Regions from separate parts of the Homo sapiens genome. Here region 2 is linked to region 1. Evidence: promoter capture Hi-C in human tissues and cell types (Jung and others, 2019). All regions are on one chromosome and are shown on one strand. Each heading gives the region's core, a stretch centred on a gene start or on the middle of the fragment in contact. The rest is flanking DNA. Distances are from core to core; before and after follow the strand shown.

Region 1 (4,102 bases), core at 844-3,343:
CCGTCTCTACTAAAAATACAAAATTAGCTGGGCGTGATGGTGCATGCCTGTAATCCTAGCTACTTGGGAGGCTGAGGCAGGAGAATCGCTTGAACCCGGGAGGTGGAGCTTGCGGTGAGTTGAGATCGAGCCATTGCACTCCAGCCTGGGCAACGAGAGCGAAACTCCATCTAAAAAAAAAAAAAAAAAAAGATTGTAACTTGGCTACTTGGCTGAGCATGGTGGCTCATGCCTGTAACCCAGCACTTTGGGAGGCTGAGGCAGGTGGATTACCTGAGCTCAGGGGTTCGAGACCAGTCCGGGCAACATGACAAAACCCCTGTCTCTACTGAAAATACAAAAAAATTAGCCGGGTGTGGTGGTGCACACCTGTAATCTCAGCTACTAGGGAGGCTGAGCCAGGAGAATCGCTTGAACCTGAGAGAGGCAGAGGTTGTAGTGAGCCGAGATCATGCCACTGCACTCCAACCTGGGCAACAGAGTGAGACTTAGTCTCAAAAAAAAAAAAAAATCTTAAGTGGCATTTACAGTGTTTGTGATTCTAGATCAGGCTACGTTTCATTCCATAAAATAAATAGAATGAGTGTTCAGATGAGTCAAGCACAGGTTAGTTTTTATGGACAAAAAAGGGTAGAGAAAAATAGAAACAGAAGGAAAAAAAGCAGATGGGTCCTTTCAAAGTTACTTTTCTTGTAAAAGGACTTCCGTATCATGCCGGCTCACACTGGCTTGTTTGGGGTTTTGGCTCTTCCTTCCCTCTCCTGATTCCTCTGAAGGTTTGATAAACAACTTAGTGTTGCTTAGTGACATAGAACTTTAGCGTGAGTGACTCCATTTTGGTTTGGTCTGTTGAGCCAAGCACAGGAGCTCAGTGCAAATCAATGGCCTCCTATAAAATTTATTTAACTGAACCCTTGTGCATTGCTGGTGGGAATTTAAAATGGTGCAGCTACCATGGAAAATCGTATGGCGATTCCTCAGAACATTAAACACAATTACCATATGATCCAGCAATTCTACCTCTGGGTGTATATCCAAAATAATTGAAAGCAGGGACTCGAACAGATATTTGTACACTCACATTCAAAGCAGCAACATTCACAATAGCCAAAAGGTGGAAGCAACCCAAATGTCCATGGAGGGATGAATGGTTATGCAAAATGTGGTACATCTATACAATGGAATATTATTCAGTTGTAAAAAGGAAGGAAATTCTGACACATGCTACGAAATGGAAGGATCTTGAAGATATTATGTTAAGTGAAAGAAGCCAGACCCAAAAAGACAAATACTGTATAATTCCACTCATATCAGGTGCCTAGAGTAGTCAAGGGGAAGTTACTGTTTAATCGCGATAGAGTTTCAGTTTGGGAAGATAAGAAAGTTCTAGAAAAGAATGGTGGTGGTGGTTACAGAACAATGTGAGTGTACTTGGTGCCACAGAACTGTATGCAGTACTTACAAATGGTTACAATGGTAAATTTAGGCCAGGAGTGGTGGCTCATGCCTGTAATCCCAGCATTTTGGGAGGCCAAGGCAGGAGGATTGATTGAGGCCAGTAGTTTAAGACCATCTTGGGCAACACGGTGAGATCCCCATCTCTATAAAAATACATTTTAAAAATTTAAAAATTAGCTGGGCGTGGTAGCACACGCCTGTAGTCCCAGCTACTCGGGAGACTGAAGTGGGAGGATCACTTAAGCCAGAAGTTCAAGGCTACAGTGAGCTATGATCGCGCCACTGCACTCCAGCCTGGGCGACAGAGCGAGACCCTTCTAAAAAATAAAAAGGTAACATACATGTGTATGTATTGTAACACCATTAAAAAACAGAAATTTAAACGAAGAAAAGTTGGCTTCTAGCCCTTTGATCTAGCAAAGCTGACAGTGTCCTCACCTACCAATATAGGTAGATGACTCCTTACACGTGGACAAGCACATCCACCTGGCCGCTTCTCCCCTTTCCTCCCCTCCCCCGTTCCTCTCCTCCCCAACACATCCAGGTTCCGACCCTGCCACCCCCAACGAGTCTCACTGCGCAGGCGCGGAGCGGTGGGCAGGAGCGGGCGTGGCCTGACTCTGCGCCTGTGCGGAATTCCAGCTGCGACTGCTGAGGGAGAAAATGATGCCCAGGTTGGGCTCCCCGGCCCACCGGCCGAGGAGAGGCCTGCGCTGCACACGCGCAGACCGAGCATCCGCGTCAAGAGGCGAAGAGAGCGCGCGCTCCCCACGTCCTGCGCTCCTGGCTGCCGGGCATTCGTCTCAGCCGTGACTCTCGCCAGGCCGGGGCTGGCGCGCCCACGTCTGAAGAGCGATGCCCCGGGAGATCATCACCCTGCAGCTGGGCCAGTGCGGCAACCAGAGTGAGCAAGCGAGCGCCGGCCCCGCCGGTCTCTGGTTCTGCCCCTTCGGGTCCCACCCAAGTGCCTGGCTTCCACCAGTCCCCCTTTCCCTTCCATGAACCCCCTGCCCTGCTGCTCTGGATAACCCAGACCGAGAGCTGCGCCTCCAGCCCGGGGCTGGGGCAGCTACCAAACCCAGGCATCTTGGGTCCACCCTCTGATCGTGTCAGCCTCTGAGACTAAAACTGGGCTCCTCAGGCCTTAAGGCTCCAGCAGACCCGGGCATCTCCCCCCTCCCCCAGTTGGGTTCGAGTTCTGGAAACAGCTGTGCGCCGAGCATGGTATCAGCCCCGAGGGCATCGTGGAGGAATTCGCCACCGAGGGCACTGACCGCAAGGACGTCTTTTTCTACCAGGTGCCCCCAGCGACTTGGCCGGGGGCGGCAGTGGCCCAAGGGGGCGGAAGGGAAGGGAGTGGCCTGGTACTGGGAACCCCGCTGGGCAGTAGGGCCAGGCGGCTGGCTTGAGGAGGGAGGGCCGGAGGGAGCCAGAGTTGGGAGGACTTCGGACTTGGGCCGCCCTAGCTGATTGGGCCCCCTCCTGGACTCCCCTTGACAGGCAGACGATGAGCACTACATCCCCCGGGCCGTGCTGCTGGACTTGGAACCCCGGGTGATCCACTCCATCCTCAACTCCCCCTATGCCAAGCTCTACAACCCAGAGAACATCTACCTGTCGGAACATGGAGGAGGAGCTGGCAACAACTGGGCCAGCGGATTCTCCCAGGTGTCCTAGCGACCATTCCAGAGACCTTTGATATTCCCATCCAGAGGCAAGGCAGGCTCAAGCTACTAGGAATTTGACCTGACTGACAGAAAATAAGAGACAAAAGGATGTCCCGAACAAGAGGGACAGCCAGGGAGAGGTTTATGCAAATTTTGTGCAAATCATTTGCAATAGTAGCACTTCTGGGTTGAGGGCTACAGCCTAGGCTCTGCTTCAGGGTGGCAACAATATTCCAGGGTAGACAGAATTCTTGGTGCTGTGCTGAGAAAAGATGCTCTCTGGAACCTTTGGCCTGACCCTCCCTTTCCATATCTCTATACAGGGTGAGAAAATTCATGAAGACATCTTTGACATCATAGACCGAGAAGCAGATGGAAGTGACAGTTTGGAGGTGAAGTTATGGAGTGGGGGAAGGAATGGGCAGGGAGGCCGAAGAGTGCTGGGGACAGGTCAGGAGGTGGCCTGGATAGGTAATATGAGGGGAGCAATTCAATTCAAAACCCGTTTATGGAGCATCAGATGTGGGATATTGAGGTGAATAAGATATAATCTTTGTTCTCAAGGAAGTCATAAATCTGAATGGCACCGGCCCCTTAGGCATGAGTCATTCAGCTGCTTCTCCAGCTCCAAACCTTCCCAAGGAGCCTCAGCCTGGATGCATAAGAGGAAGCTTTGAGACATTGGCGTTTTGGGAATGGAGAATGAACCAAGCCGAAGTCTCTCCCCCAGATCCTTGGAGACTGCCTCTCCATCTCTCCCCATGCTGGGTGCGATATGTTCCTGGCTTACAGCTCTTATAACCCATGTAATTTCCTAAGGGACTAGAGCAATAATAGTATGTTTTGTTAAAATATTTGACCTTTTGTCCTTGGTTTCTGAAACAGCTCCAGAACAGCTCCAGAGTGATAAAGGTGAAAGACAGTCTTTTGTTATTTATAACAAGCCCGTTTCTTTTAGTTTAATCTTTCATTTTATT
Region 2 (4,102 bases), core at 593-3,092, 72 kb before region 1:
CAGCAAGGGGCCACATCATGACAGTGACAACTGTGAGGAGGCATGGGAAACAGTGACAAAATGGAGAAGGGGCTGCAAAAAACATTCCCAACTGTAGCGCTGCTATTGGTCCTTAGGGCTTGGACACAAAGTGTGGAACAGATCTGCCCAAGTCTGCCAGTCATCTTCACCAGTCTCCCCTACACATGAAGGAGTCTTTGAGGGCAGGGACTTCTACAGCCACCCACAAAGCCTACTGCAGGGTTGTGCACAGCACAGTATGCTGCTGACAGGCCAAGGGCAGAACCTGGCAATGGGTGTCACTGAGCCATAAATGGAAATTACACAACAAATCATGCGAGGTTTTGATATACAAAAGCCACAGGCATAAGTACTTAGTTCTTCCAGCCCCAAGCAAGCTGAGTACATGCCAACAGGAAGTAACTAAATTTACAAAACTATGCTCCAAGTGGGAAAAAAGTACTCTGGCATAAATAGAACCTAGCAGAGAAACCCCTAAGAGTTATGTTCTGCTGACAATACCCTGGCTCTAAAAATTCTCTCCTTAAACAGGGACAGGCAGTCCTTTATAGTTGGTAATACCAACAATATATGTTAGTGGACCCTCATCAATTTCTGACTTGGTAAGAAATGAACTTTGTATGTGGAGAGCCTGCTAAAGAAGGATATTTTCATGACACTAAACAGGTCATGAAAATATGCAAAGGTCATATCCTAGAGAATTGAAATATAACAGTCCTCTCCCCACACCTAGAGTTAGCCATAGTTGGAAAGCTATGAGCAGGGTATACTTTGTAGGGGAGGTATATGTCATACTTACGCATCAAGTAGGACAGCAGAAGCCCAGGGACGTAGCGGCCCAAGACAGCCAAAAAGGTCAGTATCCCACAGCTCAGCAAGCAGAACTGGGGAATCAAGAAAGAGTATTAAGTTTCTGTCACATGGCAGGGGACTGGGGTGGGTGTGAAGGGTTAGGGTAGAGATATGACAGAAAGACTCTGTAAGTCAAGCATGGACGTGCAGCCACTGTTGCATCCAAAGGTGATTCTGTTTGGGAAGAAAAGGAGCATGTCCCCTTCTATTCAAACTCCTTTTACATGGCTAACCCCATAGGGCTGCACCTTTCCTGCCAAGAAATTGGTTTGAATAGGACTTAGCCAAAAATTCTCTCTGAAAGCAATGTTGGTGGTGGTTTTTTAAGTCAACAGAAACACACACAAAACCCAAAAAAACACAACAACCTATCACATATTTAATATGACACAGAATGTACACAAGAAAGCTTTCTTTCCTATCTTGAAGCAAGAAAACGGCCTCATCTAAGTGGCAACCACACCAAATGAGCAGTCACCAAGCTCCTGTGTTAGTCCTAATGGCTGGTCAGAAGGCCTTTCCTATAGCTTCCTTTTGTCTCTATGAACATCATAGTCTTTACTTTCTTGAATGAAGACACATAGTAAAGGAGCTGTTTCAGTTTAGCATGAACTGAACTGAGAGGCCAGAGATGAAAGTGAAAAAGGGAAGAGTCTTACCTTGCCTGGGTTTTGCTTTTTGAAAAGCAAAACATTCCTTATGAAAATGGTCCCACTAACCCAGACTTCAGCTACATGGTGGCAGAGCTCGGGCACGCTGAGCAACCGAGGGTGCACAAAGCCCCAGCTATGGGAGAGAGAAGGGGGAGCTGTGAAAGGAGGGTGTTGAGGGTCCCCCCATCTTGCTGTGCAGGCAGCCAGTGCTTCCGGTTTTAAATGGGGTTTGGGGAGTGACTAGGCCCAGGTGCTTTGGAGGTGAAGCATGACTTTCTTCTTGGCTCACCAGGTTGAAATCTGAATTTAGGTACAAGGAGGACAAACTTGTTCTGACAACTCCACCCTATGAGCAAGCAGCCCAATCCACGTGTGTAAACCTGTCCCCAGCTCCAAGGCCCTTTGTGCTTAGAAACGTTTTCTTCCTTGCACTCAGACCATTCCAATTCCCTGTGATTGCAATCCAGGGATAAAAGTGAGCATAGTCTGACTGACACCACTGCTGCTAAGGGGGAGGAAATGGTGGATGTGCCCCTTAGAAAGAAAATAAATAAAGCAAAACCAAAATAAACCACAGCAGAGAAAATTCTTTGGATCAAACAAATGGAGTGGATGAACTGAGAAATGAAAGCAGGAGCTGTAAGACACAAGAGGAATCTTTGGCTTTGACTTGCTGATGCCAGGAACCAATGTGTTTTCTGACCGGGAACTTTAAATAGCCAGAGGTCACAGAAAACACTAAATGACCTGGTATAAAAGCCAGGAGACAAATGAAGTTAGCTGCCTTTAAGTTTTCTCACTGGGACTGAATAATGCAGCTGATTCCCTGGCATGTCAGGTTATGGGGCACTGTAATGCTTCTTTTTCAGAAACTTCTCTTGTAAAGATCAGAGGACACAGGCCATCTCAACATATTGCTGCCTGAACTTTAGGATGTGTTAAAATGATCATTTGGAACAGCCTAGGTTCTCAGTTTACACTGTGTGTCCAGAACATGGGGTTAACAACATGTAACCAGAATATTACAAGAGAATGAATCAGAGCAACAAAAAGGGATTTAATTAGTGTTCCATACCTCTCATTGTCTAATGCGTCGGGTCTTGGCACTACAATATTAAAACAAACACCAGCATTAGTTGGTAGGGAAAACTAAACATGAAAATGTTAGGCTGTTGGTCTGACAGCTCAAGTTTTAATAGGTTGGGGAAAAGAAAACAGTAATAGCCGATAAAAAAGGAGACACTGTGTTATACTGCCAGTTAGGGAGCTGCAGACAAGGGAATAATCACTTATGCCTACTCATTTTTCGAGGGGAAGGAAGGGAGGTCCAAATGGACTATTTGAGCCCCCTTCTAATGACCTCAGCTGAAAGCCAAGGTGTACAAGAAAAATGGTCCATCTCACCCCTTGAGTGTGTCTGGGATACCCATACACATCAATCTGTGCCAGGCTACACAAGGTACGTTGTAACAACTCCAACCCTAGAAATCCACCTGTTGTGTTTATTTTTTTTGAGACAGAGTCTTCTCGCTCTGTTGCCCAGCCTGGAGTGCAGTGGCACGATCTTGGCTCACTGCAAGCTCCGCCTCCCATTCTTCTGCCTCAGCCTCCTGAGTAGCTGGGACTACAGGCACCCACCACAATGCCCGGCTAATTTTTTTTTTTTTTGGAGACAGGGTCTTGCTCTGTAGCCCAGGCTGGAGTGCAGTGGCGTGATCTCAGCTCACTCAGCCTCCCGAGTAACTGGGATTACAGGCACACGCCACCATACCTGGCTAATTTTTGTGTTTTTAGTAGAGATGGGGTTTCACCATGTTGGCCAGGCTGCTCTCGAACTCCTCCACCTCCCAAAGTGCTGGCATCACAGGCGTGAGCTACCGTACCCAGCCGAAATCTGCCTGTTCTCTTTATTTTTTTGAGACAGAATCTCACTCTGTCACCCAGGCTGGAATGCAGTGGCACGATCTTGGCTCACTACAACCTCCACCTCTGGTGTTCAAGCAATTCTCCTGCCTCAGCCTCCCAAGTAGCTGGGATTATAGGCACCTGCCACCACGCCTGGCTATTTTTGTGTTTTTAGTAGAGACAGGTTTTTGCTATGTTGGCCAGGCTGGTCTTGAACTCCTGACTTCAGGTGATCCACCCACCATAGCCTCCCTAAAGTGCTGGAATTACAGGTGTGAGCCACCACACCCAGCCTGCCTGTTCTCTTTAAAAAGAGACCCAGAGCTAGGTGTAGTGATGCTCACTTATAGTTCTGCCTCCTTGGGGGGCTGAGGCAGGAGGATCACTTGAGCCCAGGAGTTCAAGTCCATCCTGGGAAACACAGTGAGACCCTGTCTCTAACCAAAAAAAAAAAAAAATGGGGAGACCCATTATCTACCTGAATGATGTATAAGTCTTTTGAGATTCACCAGCCATTAGATAGGCAGATGAACTACACGATTCCTTGAAGTCTCTATAAAATATGATGGGCATGTATTTAAAACCTGTATACTCTGGTTTGAATATCTTGCCAACACTTCAAAATTAACCTGCCTAAAATCTACATCAGTTTTCCTCTCTCACCCCTTCAA

Evidence for each region. The method cuts DNA at HindIII sites, captures the fragments that hold promoters and counts their contacts. A contact is called where the count stands out against the background at its distance.
Region 2: a contact is called between a fragment that was not itself captured here and the fragment with the promoter of TUBG2 in region 1, in 9 of the 25 tissues and cell types used here (H1 embryonic stem cells, IMR-90 fibroblasts, adrenal gland and 6 more).

Annotation. Positions count from the first base shown.
Region 1 is chr17:42,657,191-42,661,292 of GRCh38, forward strand. It overlaps TUBG2 (tubulin gamma 2), which reads left to right and starts at 2,094. Exons shown (of 11, transcript NM_016437.3): 1 at 2,094-2,362; 2 at 2,644-2,756; 3 at 2,959-3,126; 4 at 3,449-3,517. The coding sequence starts at 2,314. RefSeq lists enhancers at 1,926-2,693, 2,051-2,110, 2,121-2,190, 2,241-2,310. The HindIII fragment of the contact is 23,957 bases long and covers 1-4,102 here.
Region 2 is chr17:42,585,233-42,589,334 of GRCh38, forward strand. It overlaps RETREG3 (reticulophagy regulator family member 3), which reads right to left. Exons shown (of 9, transcript NM_178126.4): 3 at 2,602-2,632; 4 at 1,533-1,659; 5 at 821-905; 6 at 1-30. Among named protein-coding and RNA genes, the nearest start is that of PSMC3IP, 9.6 kb to the left of the region's middle. The HindIII fragment of the contact is 8,959 bases long and covers 1-4,102 here.